Regions from separate parts of the Homo sapiens genome. Here region 1 is linked to region 2. Evidence: promoter capture Hi-C in 16 types of primary human blood cells and fetal thymus (Javierre and others, 2016). All regions are on one chromosome and are shown on one strand. Each heading gives the region's core, a stretch centred on a gene start or on the middle of the fragment in contact. The rest is flanking DNA. Distances are from core to core; before and after follow the strand shown. Region 1 has its middle 15 kb from the start of OR52K1. Region 2 holds the start of OR52B4 (olfactory receptor family 52 subfamily B member 4).

Region 1 (3,389 bases), core at 70-2,569, 130 kb after region 2:
CATATGTGCAAGAAGCATAATTTTGAGTTGCCCCAACTGCTGGTATACTCACCACTACACTGACTACCATAAAGGCAGCCAGAATTATATTACCTGTTTTTGGAATTCCTTTTTCTTGTAGTAATTTTTCCGTTTGATGTGATAAGACCTTTATTTGACCCCATGTTGGTGGAGTAGAATGACTGGTATTGTAGGTCACACGGTGAGATTGTGTCATAATGTTGAGGTCATGGAATTTATGTGTCAGGCGGCAAAGCTTGCCTTTCAATTTCTGACGTTTCTTCGCCTTTTGTTTCTGAGAGCTTTTTATCTTTGAAGTTATAGTGCAATTTCAGTTGCCGGGAGGGAACCCACACGGGTTGTTGTCCTTCTTTTGGGCAAACACAGCAAAACCCCTACCCCATGTTACCACAGTGCCTGATTCCTGTTTGTCAGTTTTGCATCTTTCCACCATACCCGCTTTTCCTTTTTGTGGATCAAATTTATTTCCAGTGAAATGTTCTGCTGCTGTAAAAGGTTGATTTCTTACTAAATTTAAGAAATTTAGTGTAAAAAAGCAGCACTAGTGTAGCCGGGGCCGTCATTAGTTTTTAGTTTCTCGGGACAGCCCATAACTGAGAAAGATGAAAGTATGTGTCGTTTAACATGAACCATATACTTTCCCTTGTTTGACAAGTGACCCAGATAAAATGAGAAAAGGTGTCAATAGTTAATGTATAAAAGAGAGTTTGCCGAAAGCAGGATAATGAGTCACATCCATTTGCCAGAGAGCATTTTGTGAAAGTCCTCTAGGATTAACTCCTGAAGAAAGTGGCTGTAACATTAACACTTGACAAGTAGGACAGTGATGTACGATGGTTTTAGCTTGTTTGCCTGTAAAGGGGAACTTTTTCCAGAGTCCTGCAGCACTGACATGAGTTAAAGCATGAACATTTTCTGCATCTGTAAAAACGGGAGCAACTAATGTATCAGCTTTGGCATTTGCTGCCGAGAGGGGTCCGGGGAGGGGTGTGTGAGCCCGAATGAGTAATGTAGAAAGAAGACCTTGCTGTGAGTACGGATTGAAACTTTTGGAAAAGAAAAATTAGGTTATCAGGCAGAAGTTTGATTAAGGCAGTTTCAACGTTGCGAGCAACATGTACTACATAGGCCGAATCAGAAACGATGTTAACTGGTTCAGGGAAATCTTCAAGAACAGCCATGACAGCGATCAGCTCAGCTCGTTGTGCTGAAATAACTCCTGTGTTAAGAACACATTCTCTTGGCCCGGTACATGCTGCTTGGCCATTATTACAGGAAGCATCAGTAAAAACAGTGACAGCTTCAGCTAATGGTGTGTTTCTAGTAATGTTAAGGTAAGATCCAAGAAGTGAGTTTAAGGAACCGGAATAGTTTTGCATTAGGATAATGATAATCAGTTATACCCGGGAAACGTGCCAAATGTACTTGCCAAGCAATGCAGGTTGCAAAAGCCTGTTGGACTTGTAATCAGGTGAGGGGAACAATGATTTTTTGGGGCTTAATAACCTTGTCTTCTAGCTGCATTCCTAAATAGTGATAAGGAGAAGAAGTCTGGATTTTTTCTGGGGCAATAACCAAACTGGCTGTTGCAACTGCAGTTGTGCTGCAGAAAAACAAGATATTAACACGGAGCGTGAAGGTGCCGCAAGATCAGCCGCCTGCTGAGCAAGATCAGTGGGTTGTGGCTGATTTTTTGCCACAGGGAAGGCAGGTATTGGAGGTTGTAAAATTAGAGGAAATTGCCAGGCTTCGGGATCCCCATATTCTCTTGCCTGTGCTATAGCCCTCATAAGAGGAGTCTCATTTTTAGGAATGTATGTGACTTGTCACAGTAGCCACCGGACCAGAAGCAGAAAAAAGTTGGAATTTTGAATGGAGGAAAAGTTGAGAACCTGTAAACCAGGATGAGACGAGATTACCTGCCGAGCAGATCTTTCATGGGCCTGAAATCCAGGCTGCCCCGGTAATTGCAGACCAGGCTACAGGGGAGCCTGAGGTTTCTTAAAGGGAACCCGATATTCCAAGAGAGATCCAGGCTTCAAGGGAAACATTTTCCGAGAGAGACCCAGGCTTCAAGGGAACCTGATTTTCCGAGAGAGACCCAGGCTTCAGGGGAGCCTGAGGCTTCAAGGGAGCCTGATTTGTGGAAAGAGAATCAGGCTTCAGAAATGGAAAACTAGGCTGTGGAGGGATAGGATTGGGGCCTCATTACCAGGCCAAACAGGCAGAAGGTTGAGAGCCCTACAGCAGGGCTGAACAGGGACAGGGTTGAGATAATACAGGAGGGTTTTTATGAAGTTTAAATAAGTCGAGTACTTAGTACTGGCTTGTCCCCTGGTGTCCCCGGGATACTCTGAGTGCTCAAGCTTACCACCAAGCTTATTGACCACAGTCCTCAGAAATCTGTCGTCAAATGAATTGTTTTGGGCCCAGATAATATATAATTTTGATAATTTCACTTATTTGTACCTTGATTTTCCCCTGGAGCCCTAGCCTGCTTTTCTCTTTCTCTGAAGCAGAATTGTCCCTCACAGGATCCGTAATCATGCCAACTTCTCTGAACTGACTATATTGTACTGGATTCCCTGAAGTAGGTTCAAACTACAGGGCTGGTATCAGATATGTTTTTTTATTCAGACTTGCATTTAAATCTTTAATCCATCTTGAATTGATTCTTTTATATGGTGTAAGGAAGGGATCCAGGAGTAATCTTCTGCATATGGCTAGCCAGTTATCCCAGCACTATTTATTGAATAGGGGGGTCCTTTCCCTATTGCTTGTTATTGCTGGCTTTGTTGAACATCATCTATCTCCACTTTTGTAGATTACATATGAGAGATTATATAGTATTTGTCTTTCTGTGCCTGGCTTATAACATAATGCCATCCACATTCATCCATATTGTTGCAAGTGATGGGATTTTAAGGCTGAATAGTATCCCGTTGTGTATACATACCACATTCTCCACTCATCTGTTGATGGCCATTTAGGTTGATTCCATATCTTGGGTATAGTGAGTAGTGCTGTAATGAACATGTGAGTGCAGACCTATTTTCAACATGAGGTTTTCATTTCCTGTGGATATCCATCAAGAAGAGGGTTTATTGGATCATATGAGAGTTATACTTTATATGAGAGTTTAATTTAAGGAACTGCCATAGTTTTTCCCCATAATGGCTGTACTAGTCTACATTCCCACCAACAGTGTGCAAATGTTCCTTTGTCTCTGCATCCTCATCAGCACTTGTTCTTTTTGTTCAGGACTGCTTTGGCTATTCACAACTTTTGTGGTTCCATATAAAATTTAGGATTTTTCCCCTCTACTCATGAGGAAAACATCATTGGAATTTTAATACGGATTGCATTGA
Region 2 (3,249 bases), core at 106-2,605:
ATGCCAGAGCACTGTTCCCACTTTATTTCCGAAGATTATGATAGTGTTGTCCTGTTAAGGATACATGACTTCTGAAAAATCAATCTATTCTCTCTCAGGCTCTGTGCAGGAGGTAGTTTGTTCAGTCAAACATTGCATTGCTTTCCTAGGTTGTTTAAAAAATGGAAGAATAAGCCCTGTAACTTCCCAGTTGACCTTGCTCCAGACATCGTACTCACTGAGTTATTTCCTACGGTATCAGCTGACCTCTCCCATCTACCACTTTCATACCCACTTACCAGATAGCTAGAGATTCTGAAAACTCAGTTCTTAAACCAAAGTTATTTCTGTTTTATAAACAAAAACTGAACCACCTGTTCCTGGATTTGCTTGGTTTTGATCCCATAAATAATGGGATTCAGCATAGGTGGAGCCAGAATGCAGACATTAGCCAACGGGATGTGGATACAAGGTGGAATGTGGCGTCCAAACCTCTGGGTAAGGATTGTGAAGATGCCAGACCCATAAAAGAGGATGATGATGCAGACATGGGAGCCAAATGTGTTGAGAGCTTTGTGGCAAGCATCTGGAGAAGGCATGTGGAAGACAGCATGGAGAATCAGCATATAGGAAATAAAAATTAGTACAACATCTAAGACCACCGTCGACATTAGAATGGAAAACCCATACCAAATGTTTATTCGAATGTCATTACATGCATATTTGGCTAGGCCAATGTGTTCACAAAAGGTGTGTGGAATAATATTATTCTGGCAGAAAGTCAATCTTTTTAAAAGAAATATGATAGGGAAAATTGTACCATAACTTCTCAGAGAGACAGTCACACAAATTTTCTTGATCAGAGCATTTGTAAGAATGGTGGTGTACCTCAGTGGGTAGCATATGGCAATATAGTGGTCAAAGGCCATCACCAGCAAGATCCCTGACTCAGAGATGAAGGTGGAATGGATGAAGAAGAGCTGAGTGATGCAACGATCCAGGGAGATGTCCCCAGCACGGAACCAGAAGATAGCTAAGGCCTGAGGAATGGTGCACGTGGAGAGGACAATGTCTGCTCCAGCCAGCATGCAGAGGAAGAGGTACATGGGTTCATGGAGGCTGCGCTTTGTGAGGATAATGAAGATGAGCAGGCTGTTCCCAAGAAGGGCGGTGACATAGGAAATGAAGAATGGGATAGAAATCCACATGTGCTGGTCCTGTAGGCCAGGGATGCCCAGCAAGTGGAAGACTGTGTGGCTAGTGCCACTGTGGTTTACAGTAGGCATAGCTGGGGAGAACTTTCAGAACCTCACCTCCTACTCACAGAGGTAGAAGAAGATAAAATCTGCAACATTCTTTGCGATGTCACCAGGAGCTTATGGCATATTCCATAATCTTCGTCTTCTTTGAACATGTAAATAACAAACATGCAAATATGAAAGGTGGTGGTCTATACTCTAATGAATGACAGCCAGACAATATCTCCAAGTAATCAGAATAAGAGACATTATTGTATGCGCTTTAATTATGAATGGAGGATTATGAATATACAGAGGAAATTATTATTTCTGTGTGGGAAAGCTGAATAAGGTGATACTTAAAATTGAGTAGTTTATCGTAAAGTTAATAATGAAGAGAGAAAGAAAGTAGCATAAGAAAAGGTGAGTGTACAGATCAATGCACAGTATGTTTCTGAAATATTTTCAGGCCAGGGTGGCTGGTGCATAAGGAGTACTGAGGAGAACAAGGGAGGTGATGGTATAGGCAGGTTTTTCCTGAATGTGAAGGGCTTCGATCACAACTTCACTCTTAGGCCCCATCCTTTACACAGGGGCAGTCATTAGTTTAGAAAGATGATCTGTTGATATTTGTTGGAACGTTGATTGATTGAAGACACTAAAGCCTAAAAGGCCAGTGGTGTTCCAGGAGTGGACAAAATCTTATTGTATTACAGTCGCAGGAGAATTTAGCTAATGTTTATTAAGCATCACTTTATGCCACGGGCTGTAGTTTGCACTTTGTACGTTCTTAATGCAGGGAGTAGACATCCACTCTTAGAACTGGATAGTACCCCTATTTCACACTTAAGGAAAGTGAGTCTTAGACAATGTGAATAACTTGCCACTTGTCACAAAGCAGCAATTGATAGAAATGAGATTTGAAACCTCTGACTTCACCACATACAGTTTGCTCACTTATGAAGAGGGTCAAGGTACCTCTTTATCTGAGATGAGGCACTCTTTGTGCTCACACCCCAGGGAACTAGGCTTAGAAGTGACTGAAATTAGGTAAAGAGTTATTTCTGGGGGATGAAGAGGGGTTGCAGTTCTTGATATTTGAGAAATTCTTCTGCTGGTAGAAATGAACATGTAACTTCATCATTTACTTCCTAGAATATTCTTCTTCACTCATTAGTGGATTCATTCACAGGCATATTTTGAGCATTGACTATTTTTTCCTGCATCATGCTATGTGCCTGAGTCCTAAATAGCTTTATGGTTTCAGAGAATGGTGGGCTTGTGAGTAAATAGATTTACTAAATGTTCCATGTGGAATGGCTTCAGAGAGTGCCTTCTGAGAAGACAGCCATATTGAATCCCATTTTCAATGGAATGAAGAAATGGCAACAAATAATAAAATACACTCTTCATGGGGTTTCTGAGGATATTAAATAAAGGAATATCTTAAAATATTTAGTTGTTGGCTAAGATATATCTTATGATCAGTAATATTTTTTCTTCCATTCTAGTTCACACTCTTGGTGCATCCTCTTCTTTCTGGGGAGGATAATTGGCTCTTAGTTATTTTTCACACCTGCTAGGATGCCCTGGCTGCCTCCACAAAGCTCCTTCCAATGTGTGGCTTGGGGCAGGTGACTCAGTTCCCTGCCATTTTCAGGGCTCCTTTCATATTATGCCAAGAGTTGTTTGCAGCCTACATCAATATATTTTATGTTTTCTCATCTCTGGTCTAACTCTTAGGGTGCCTACTAGTTACTGGATTGCTTCTCTTTTCTTCCCTTCAGTAAATTCCATCTAGCCCACGTTCTCTCACCCTCCCTTCTCAGATCCTCATCTTTCACTTCCGCCATAAGTGGAGACTTGTGCCTCTGGTATATATATATATTTACCACATATTTCAACAGTCTCTAAGAGTCCTTTTACCTCTGGCCTGTATGATATAACACCAGCCTAGTTCTAACCTTATTTCTGAAGCCAGTACCACCCATAGATGTCTAATTCACTCACTGGCCTCAGACTGAGACTTCAG

The links. The method cuts DNA at HindIII sites, captures the fragments that hold promoters and counts their contacts. A CHiCAGO score of 5 or more calls a contact.
Region 1: a contact is called between a fragment that was not itself captured here and the fragment with the promoter of OR52B4 in region 2, in 5 of 17 cell types (monocytes, M0 macrophages, neutrophils and 2 more). The highest score is 8.9, in monocytes.

Annotation. Positions count from the first base shown.
Region 1 is chr11:4,495,472-4,498,860 of GRCh38, forward strand. No RefSeq gene overlaps it. Among named protein-coding and RNA genes, the nearest start is that of OR52K1, 15 kb to the left of the region's middle. RefSeq lists an enhancer at 1-874. The HindIII fragment of the contact is 2,131 bases long and covers 255-2,385 here.
Region 2 is chr11:4,367,031-4,370,279 of GRCh38, forward strand. OR52B4 (olfactory receptor family 52 subfamily B member 4) reads right to left here and starts at 1,356. Exons shown (of 1, transcript NM_001005161.3): 1 at 233-1,356. The coding sequence starts at 1,265. The coding sequence ends at 321. The HindIII fragment of the contact is 6,509 bases long and covers 1-3,249 here.